Regions from separate parts of the Homo sapiens genome. Here region 1 is linked to region 2. The links are contacts of gene promoters, found by promoter capture Hi-C in blood cells and fetal thymus (Javierre and others, 2016). All regions are on one chromosome and are shown on one strand. Each heading gives the region's core, a stretch centred on a gene start or on the middle of the fragment in contact. The rest is flanking DNA. Distances are from core to core; before and after follow the strand shown. Region 1 has its middle 90 kb from the start of CT47B1. Region 2 holds the start of GRIA3 (glutamate ionotropic receptor AMPA type subunit 3).

Region 1 (4,087 bases), core at 1,503-4,002, 2.4 Mb after region 2:
ACAAGACACACAGGTGATTCTGATGTACATGACAGTTGTGGGACTCACGCGCTACATGATACCGCCTATCTCTAAAGGGTAGTTGGGGATATAGAACCTTCAGCCCACAAAGAGTCCAGTCAGGATATTGCTTGATATCTTGCCATTTGCCATCTTATGATAAAACTGGAGCACGAGATGGTAATTCCATTTGATTGTGGGCCTAGGTTAATCATAGATGTTTGAGTATCATACCTTTTTCGTAGGAAAATTCCACATGCAGATCAGTAACAGTAGATCCATTTTTCAAATGCGGAAATCAAAGCCATTTAAGTCATTGGAGAATTGGGTTTCGAAAACCTCATTTAGTCCATTTTCCCTCCTCCAGAAAAGTAAACATAACCAATTTGAGGGCAGCAGGTAATTATCTCCATAAAAATTTTTAAAGTATCTAGAGACGGAATAAGAAAATAACTTTTGAGACTTGGACTGCAGAGTTGTAGTCTTTCAACCCAGGCGTCATCTGATCTCCTTTATTTTCTTTCTTCCCCAGTGCCATTCTTCTATAGTCTTTTTACCAGAAGGACCCAACTTGGCATTTTCCAAAGTGTGTATGTGTGTGTGTGTGCACCACACACGTGCACTGTAAGACTTTAATCCCCTGAGATGCTTGCAAGAAAAGGGTTACAGAGTCAAATCAAATTAAAATTAAATTAGCCTGTAAAGGCTGGGCACGGTGGCTCACACCTGTAATCCCAGCACTTTGGGAGGCCGAAGTGGGTGGATCACCTGAGGTTAGGAGTTCGAGACCAGCCTGGCCAACATGGCGAAACCCTGTCTCTACTAAAAATACAAAAAAATTAGCCGGGCGTAGTGGCGCTTGCCTGTAACCCCAGCTACTCTGTAGTCTGAGGCAGGAGAATCACTTGAACCTGGGAAGCAGAGGTTGCAGTGAGCTGAGCTTGCGCCACTGCACTCCAGACTGGGTGACAGAGACTCCGTCTCAAAAAACAAAAAAAAAAACAGCTTGTATTTATCGAGCATTTCCTAAAAGCCAAGTACTCTTTTAAGCAGTTTGAATATATTAAAACCACTCTGATGTAAATATTACCATTATCCCCATTTGACAGATAAGGACACCTGGAGCACAAAAAGATAAAACAGACTTTTCCAAGGTCCTATAAGGAGCAAGCGAAATATCCTAGCTGGGTTCTAAACCCAGAAAGTCTGCTATCAGAGGCCCCCACTCATAACACCACGGTTTACTGCCTCTTTTTGAGAAATTCTGCAGATTTCATCTATGATTTTCCTCTATCAGAAAAAATCTCCATATACATTAGCCCATTTGGAAGTCCTGCAGTAGAGAAATGTGCTTATATTTTATAACCCAATGTCTCCCAAACTTACTTGATCAGGGAATCCTGTTTTGTAACACCTGTTAAGCTCTCCAGAACAAAAGATCTTAAAAACACACTTTAGAAAAACCTAATTTGGCCTGAGGAGGACCACTCTTTTGCCCAATCTGTAAGTCATTGTGAGAAGACAGATGGAATAATGGAGAAAAAAAGTATGTGCATGTATATGCATGCGTGTGTGTATCTTAGAACAGTGCCAAAAACGGAATAAGTGCTATGTAAGTGTTTACTCTTGTTGTTGCTGGTAATGGTGGTGGTTGTGGTGGTGTCATTCTTAACACATATCTAATGCCTTTACTACATCTTTGGCTAATCTCGAAGGACAAGAAAGACAATTATATCATCATGAGGGAAAGAAGCTTATTTTATTTCTCTTAGAGTACACAAATGCAATTGGTATCACTGACAGCAAAGGCATCATGCCACCATCTCAGCCTTTGCATGGGCAACACTTAGTAAGAGGGAAACACAGCATACCACCCACTGTAATACAAATGCCTCTGTCTCTGTGCATATTGTTAATATTGGGCAGCTTCCTCCATCCCCGCCCCACTTCTTGGAAGCTCGAAAGTGCTTACCACCTTTATCCAATTTATTCTGGAAGTTTTGGACTATTTGCTTGAGTTACTCCAGTCAGATGGAGATTTGGCATGACATTCAGAAACCTTTCTTTCAAATCTCTGTGCTTCCAGGAATGCTGCTTGATAGCACCGAATATTGAACTCGTAGCGTGTTGGAGCAGGAGGCAGGTATGAGGAAGAAGGCAGAATTCCACGTGTGACAATTAGAAACCTCTCATACTGAAGAACAGGAGCTGGAAGGGCCCCAGGCTATCTATACTGTGATCAATCTGGCCACTCATGTCAGGTTACTATCATAATCATAATCAATAATTCCCCAAACCATATGAAGCTACAGGTAAAAGTGGGATATTAATGATCATAAACAGCATTTTCTCTGGTTTTCCCCCAAATCTATCATTACAGTATCTCTAGGTTCTCCACTTATTTCTCATAACCCCCATGGGTTGTCTCAAGTCTACCCATAAAGAAGCCTTCTCCACTTTACGGACTTCCTAGACCTTTGCTACCTATACCAAACCACAGGCACCTCATCGCTGCTACCAGTGCCTACCATGAAAGATGACAGCATTAATGTTTGTACCAAGGATACTGCTTAGTTCCCAAAGTCTCCAAGGCCACATCAAGCCACTGATGCTGCCTTGTACTGCTCTTTAAACAATATGGCACAAGGTGCTACTGCTGTGCCAATTACTAGAGACTGGGTAGCATCTGCAGCTCTGTGCTGCCCCTGGCATCACTGATGTGCTAACGCCTTCCAAGTGCCAAAGCTGAGTTCTGCTCCCTAGAAACCCCATGTGCCACAGTTGGCTATGTTCTGAGCTAACTCTCAATTAGGTAGGCATAAAAGCGGTGCTGCCTTATCTTTCTTCCAATATCCCACAGAGATCTTTAGAGAAACTACTGTTTTTTTCTGTTTGTGTTTTATTTTTACTTTCAACACCTCTTTACCTAAGATTTAGACATAAATTCCTGGGAAACTAGATCGATGGGTAAATCTTAATGGTGGGCAATAGACTATGCTCAGATTTACCCCAACTCTCCAACAACTAAGCCCATTTTATTGGACTGAGCATGTCCAATAGCATGTCTATTAGGGTATGTGACTCCCTTTCTTTCTTTCTTTCTTTCTTTCTTTCTTTCTTTTTTAAGATGGAGTCTCGCTGTTGCCAGGATGGAGTGCAGTGGCAGGATCTTGGCTCACTGCAACCTCCGCCTCCCTGGTTCAAGCGATTCTCCTGCATCAGGCTCCCGAGTAGCTGAGACTACAGGCACGCGCCACCACCCCCAGCTAATTTTTGTATTTTTAGTGGAGACGGGGTTTCACCATGTTGGCCAGGATAGTCTCCACCTCCTGACCCCGTGATCCACCCACCTCGGCCTCCCAAAGTGCTGGGATTACAGGCGTGAGCCACCACCCCCGGCCTGTGGCTCTCTTTCTAAGACACTCCTTATAGCCCATGAGGAAGTAGGATGAGGTGTCTCTTTACAGCACATCCAAAGATATCTGAATCCTAGTGGAAAACCTAGACTTGTCGCTTACTAGGCTGTCTTCTACAAGAGACTTTATTTCCAGCATGTCAGTTTTGCAAACCAATCTAAAAGACTGCAGGAAGATGCACTGGACTAGACAGCAAACAATCAGAATCCAAATTCCAGTTCTATCATTTATCAGCCATGTGATCCCTGGGCAGGCCATTTAACCTCCATCTACTGGGATAATAACTCCTGTGCCTACCTCAGGTTTGTCTATTCAAGAAGTATGTATTAAGCTTCTTTCTAAAGATAAAAGGCACAATTCTGGGTCTGTTGGAGATAAAATGAATAGTCACAGATTTTGCTAGCTAACATCATACAAACTAATGATAATATTTTTAAGAAAGTATTAGTTGAATACATAGTAGTTGCCCTGCACTTTACATGTTATCTCTTACCTCACAGAAACCCTATAAGATGTGCATGATTAAGCCCACCTTACAAATGCAGAAAACAAAAGTTTAATGAGGATCACAGATTTGTTCAAGTCACACATCTAGGAAGTGGTGGACCTGGGATTCAAATTCAGGTTTGTCCGAAGCCAGAGTATGATTTTTCCACTAGACCATACAGCCT
Region 2 (3,589 bases), core at 942-3,441:
GTCAAATTCAGCTCGTTCCTAGAGCCAGGCACTAGCTTTAACAGTCAAGTGATGTACATCCTGAATTGACTCAATCAAGAAGCTGCTGCTGCTTTTTTAAATCTCATCTGAAGAAATTTCTCTGAACAACCGTGCTATTTTTTTCTTTCTTTCTTTTTTTTTCCCCAGTTAAAAAAAAAAGAGAGAGAGTGTTGGAGAAGGAACACACTAGGTTAGCATGGAGGAAAATGAAACTTTTGCATCAAACACTATTTGGAGCAGACTTTTGCCCACTGTCTTGAGTTTTTCCCACTGTCTTAAGCCCCTCAGCAGTATCATTTGGAGTTGATTTATGCAACATGAAACCGGATGGATTAGAGCCCCTAAAATATCTACTGAAGCAATCATCTCCCAGCACATACACAGACCCTAAGTGCCACAAGAAAGATGCAAATGAGGTCCCCAACGTCCCAAAGGGAGGAAAAGCAGATCTACTTACAAGCATTTGTCACGGAAAAACTATTGGAGGAATCCAAGTGATCTACGTGGTAATTCAAATGGAAGGGCTTCTCGGTGGTGTTCTGGTTGGTGTTGTATAACTGCACGGCAAAGCGGAAAGCGCTGTGCTCCTGCACTGTGTTTCTCATGAAAAGTCCACCTATAAGCAAAGGGAACGGAGATTTGGCTTGTGTTCCCCCACACTAGGGCCAGTTAGGAATTGGGGAACAATATAGATACCGGATACCTCTCAATGATACTGGGGTGTGGGATTGAGGATTGATATTCAACCTGTGTGTCTTTCAAGACTTGTGAACTCAGATTTTGGCCAAGAGAAACCTGGCTTTTCTAGACTGAAAAGAAGAGGCTAGAGAGAAGGGAGAAGAGACGAGGGAGCCGTTTTGGGTTAGGACGATGGAACCAAGAGTGAGACTTGGTTCTTTCTTAGTCGGCAGCCTTCTTTTTTTTTAGTCGCCCCCCCCCTCCGCCCCCCGCCCATCCGCACAGCTGGTCATCTTTTCATTGTGTGAAGGGAAAGGTTGGGAAGAAAAACAATATTGTTCCCCCTGCTACCCCAACCCGTTCCCCATAGCCACCCTCCCCCGTGACAATACAGGGGGTTGGTTCAGTAATGGCAAAAATTCTAACTTCTAGACTTGTAAATACGACAGAAGCCAAGATAACTCCCTCCAGGCGCCCAGGAGCCGGGCTCCAGACAGACACAGCGGCAATTCATGAATTCGTGGTCTGCGTGACTTCGCCGCTTGCCCGCTCAGCTCCTAGTCTCACCCCCGCCTCCTACCCCATCCACCACCAACGCCTGCTGCTGCCCGGGTCTGGGAGATCCAAAGTGGGCTCCACCTCCCCCAGCACCAGCCTGTCTCCCGACAGCCGGAGACCACGGACTGAGCACCCCGGGCCCGGGTTATGCGCCCTGGCGCGGCCAGACAGTCGGCATCACCCTGGGACAACTTCCAGGAGCTGCACGCACGCCATGGCAAAGTCCAGAGCAGCGAGCCGAAAAGCCTCGACTCTTCACCCCCTTGCAGCATCCCAGCCTCCTGCTCGCCTCCGGTGCTCCTCTCGGCTCGGAAAACCTAGCAGTTCACCCCCACTAGCCCCAGGAGACCCCTCTCTTGTCCCAGAGGCTCTTCAGACCAGCCACCTCGTTGAGGCTCAGATTCCCCCCGCCCCGCCCCCCGCCCCGCACCATCTCTGCCCGGTCCCGGCCCCAGTCCCAGTTCCCAGGCCACGCAGGACAGGGACCCACCGCAGGGAAAGCCTTGCCGGGGCAGTGGTCTCGGGTGAGGGAGAGCCTGGACCGACGGCTGGCTCGCTTGCGCTTACCTATGCTGATGGTGTTGGGGAATCCTCCGTGAGAATGACCCAAAAGCCCCAGGACTAAAAAGAAGACCGCCCGGAGCACGCTTTGCCCCATTTTCTTCTGCCTGGCCATGCTACGCCTAAAACGAAGCTGACAAGAGCATGGGCGCAACTCAGGAGTCGTCAAAATAATAATAGAAAAAGAAAAAGAATTCGCTGGCTCTTACACCCCCTCCCCTTAACTTGCTCTCGCTCACTCTTCCTTTCCACCCCACACTAGTCCTCCTCCTCCTCCGCTGCCGCCGCCTCCTCTTCTTCCTCTTCTTCTCTCTCCCTCTTACTCTCTCTCTTATTCGCTCGCTCTCTCTCGCTCGCTCTCTCTTCCTTTCTTGCTCCCTCTCTCTCCCTCTCGCTCCCAGGATCTCTCACACCCCCTCCCTTCCCCCCACCTCACTTCTGTCTTCACACCAATCTGGAAGGCGGGTTCATTGGCTGCAAGCTGGGTTTGCCAAAGCGATTTCTGTCCCTATGATAGAGAGAGAGAGAGAGAGAGAGAGAGAGAGAGAGAGAGAGAATAAAATCCTAAAACAGAACAAAACAAGCAAAACACTGAAAAACAAAAATAGAGAAGCAAAAGAAAGAGAACGAAAGAATAAATTATCAAGACAATCTGAGACTCTCTCCGCGCCCCCCCCCCCCCGCAAAAGATGGTAGGTCTAAAGAGGGGGGGAAAAAAAGGAAAGAGCGAAAAGGCTCAGTGCCGGTGAATTGGGCTCTTCCAATTGGGCCAGTAGGGGGATATTGATCAAAGTTGATCTGACGTGGAATTAAAGCCGCACACCGCTTAGCTCTACTGCAAACTGCAGCCCCGGACTGCAAAGCCTAGGCGCTGGCGTTTGTCAACACCGGAGATGGGATCAATAGAAATACACCACTCCTAACGTGGATCAACCTTTCAAGCTGCAACGTCCTCCCACCCTTTAAAAAAAAATAGCTGCATTGCCTCTGTGTTTGTGTGTCTGTCTTAAAGAAGGGGGGCCTTAGGAGGGCCATTAGTGGTTACTCCGGAGTCTTTGTAGAGACTCAGAGAAGCAGTTCCCATCACAATGCGCCCGAAGATGCTGCGCATGCCCGGTCTCTGCCGCTCCGCTTTTACAGCAGAGATCCGAGGGCGAGTGAGCAACCCCCACCCCCATCCCCGCAGCTTTGGGAGGCGTGTCCCTCCCCTTAAACTAGTGCTGAGGCCGGCTTGCGGGGGCATGGGGTGGGCGGTGCTGAGCAGTGATGGGCAGTATGGGGCTGACTTCTTTGGAGGGCATAGGAAAAAGTATGTGCGTAGAGGTAGTAACTAAAAGGTTAATGAAAAGGACGCTCAGGCTCACTGACCAAGGAGGAGGGAGGTGTGGGAATGAGCTGGTCTGGGGGTGGGGATTGAAAGTTGAGGCTGGAGAAAACTGTACCTAGCTGCATTGATCCCTTGGTGTTGCCTCTGGACTTAGCAGCCTAGGCCCCTGACTGATGACCTCAGAGGTTATCAATTCTTTCTGACTCTTCTTCCCCTCTGCTCTAAGGCGAGCAAAGAACCTATGAAGTCCTACAGTACAGACCGGATTTCAGTGACGGTGGCCTTCTCCATAGCATGCTGCGGATGAACCTCCTGGGCTATAGACTCCTCTCCCTAGCCCCTTTCTCCCGCAATGAGGAAAAAGAATCCTCTTTATCTCTCACGTTTTTCACTTTTACTTTACAGTTACTGTAGAAGGCATGGGTTTTATCCTCCCCACACCTG

Evidence for each region. Contacts are between HindIII fragments. The CHiCAGO score rates a contact against its expected background, and 5 or more counts as called.
Region 1: a fragment that was not itself captured here is called in contact with the fragment with the promoter of GRIA3 in region 2 in 1 of 17 cell types (M1 macrophages); the score reaches 6.6 in M1 macrophages.

What each region holds. Positions count from the first base shown.
Region 1 is chrX:120,784,012-120,788,098 of GRCh38, reverse strand. No RefSeq gene overlaps it. Among named protein-coding and RNA genes, the nearest start is that of CT47B1, 90 kb to the left of the region's middle. The HindIII fragment of the contact is 1,994 bases long and covers 1,756-3,749 here.
Region 2 is chrX:123,182,880-123,186,468 of GRCh38, reverse strand. GRIA3 (glutamate ionotropic receptor AMPA type subunit 3) reads right to left here and starts at 2,191. Exons shown (of 16, transcript NM_007325.5): 1 at 1,825-2,191; 2 at 479-637. The coding sequence starts at 1,933. The HindIII fragment of the contact is 6,706 bases long and covers 1-3,589 here.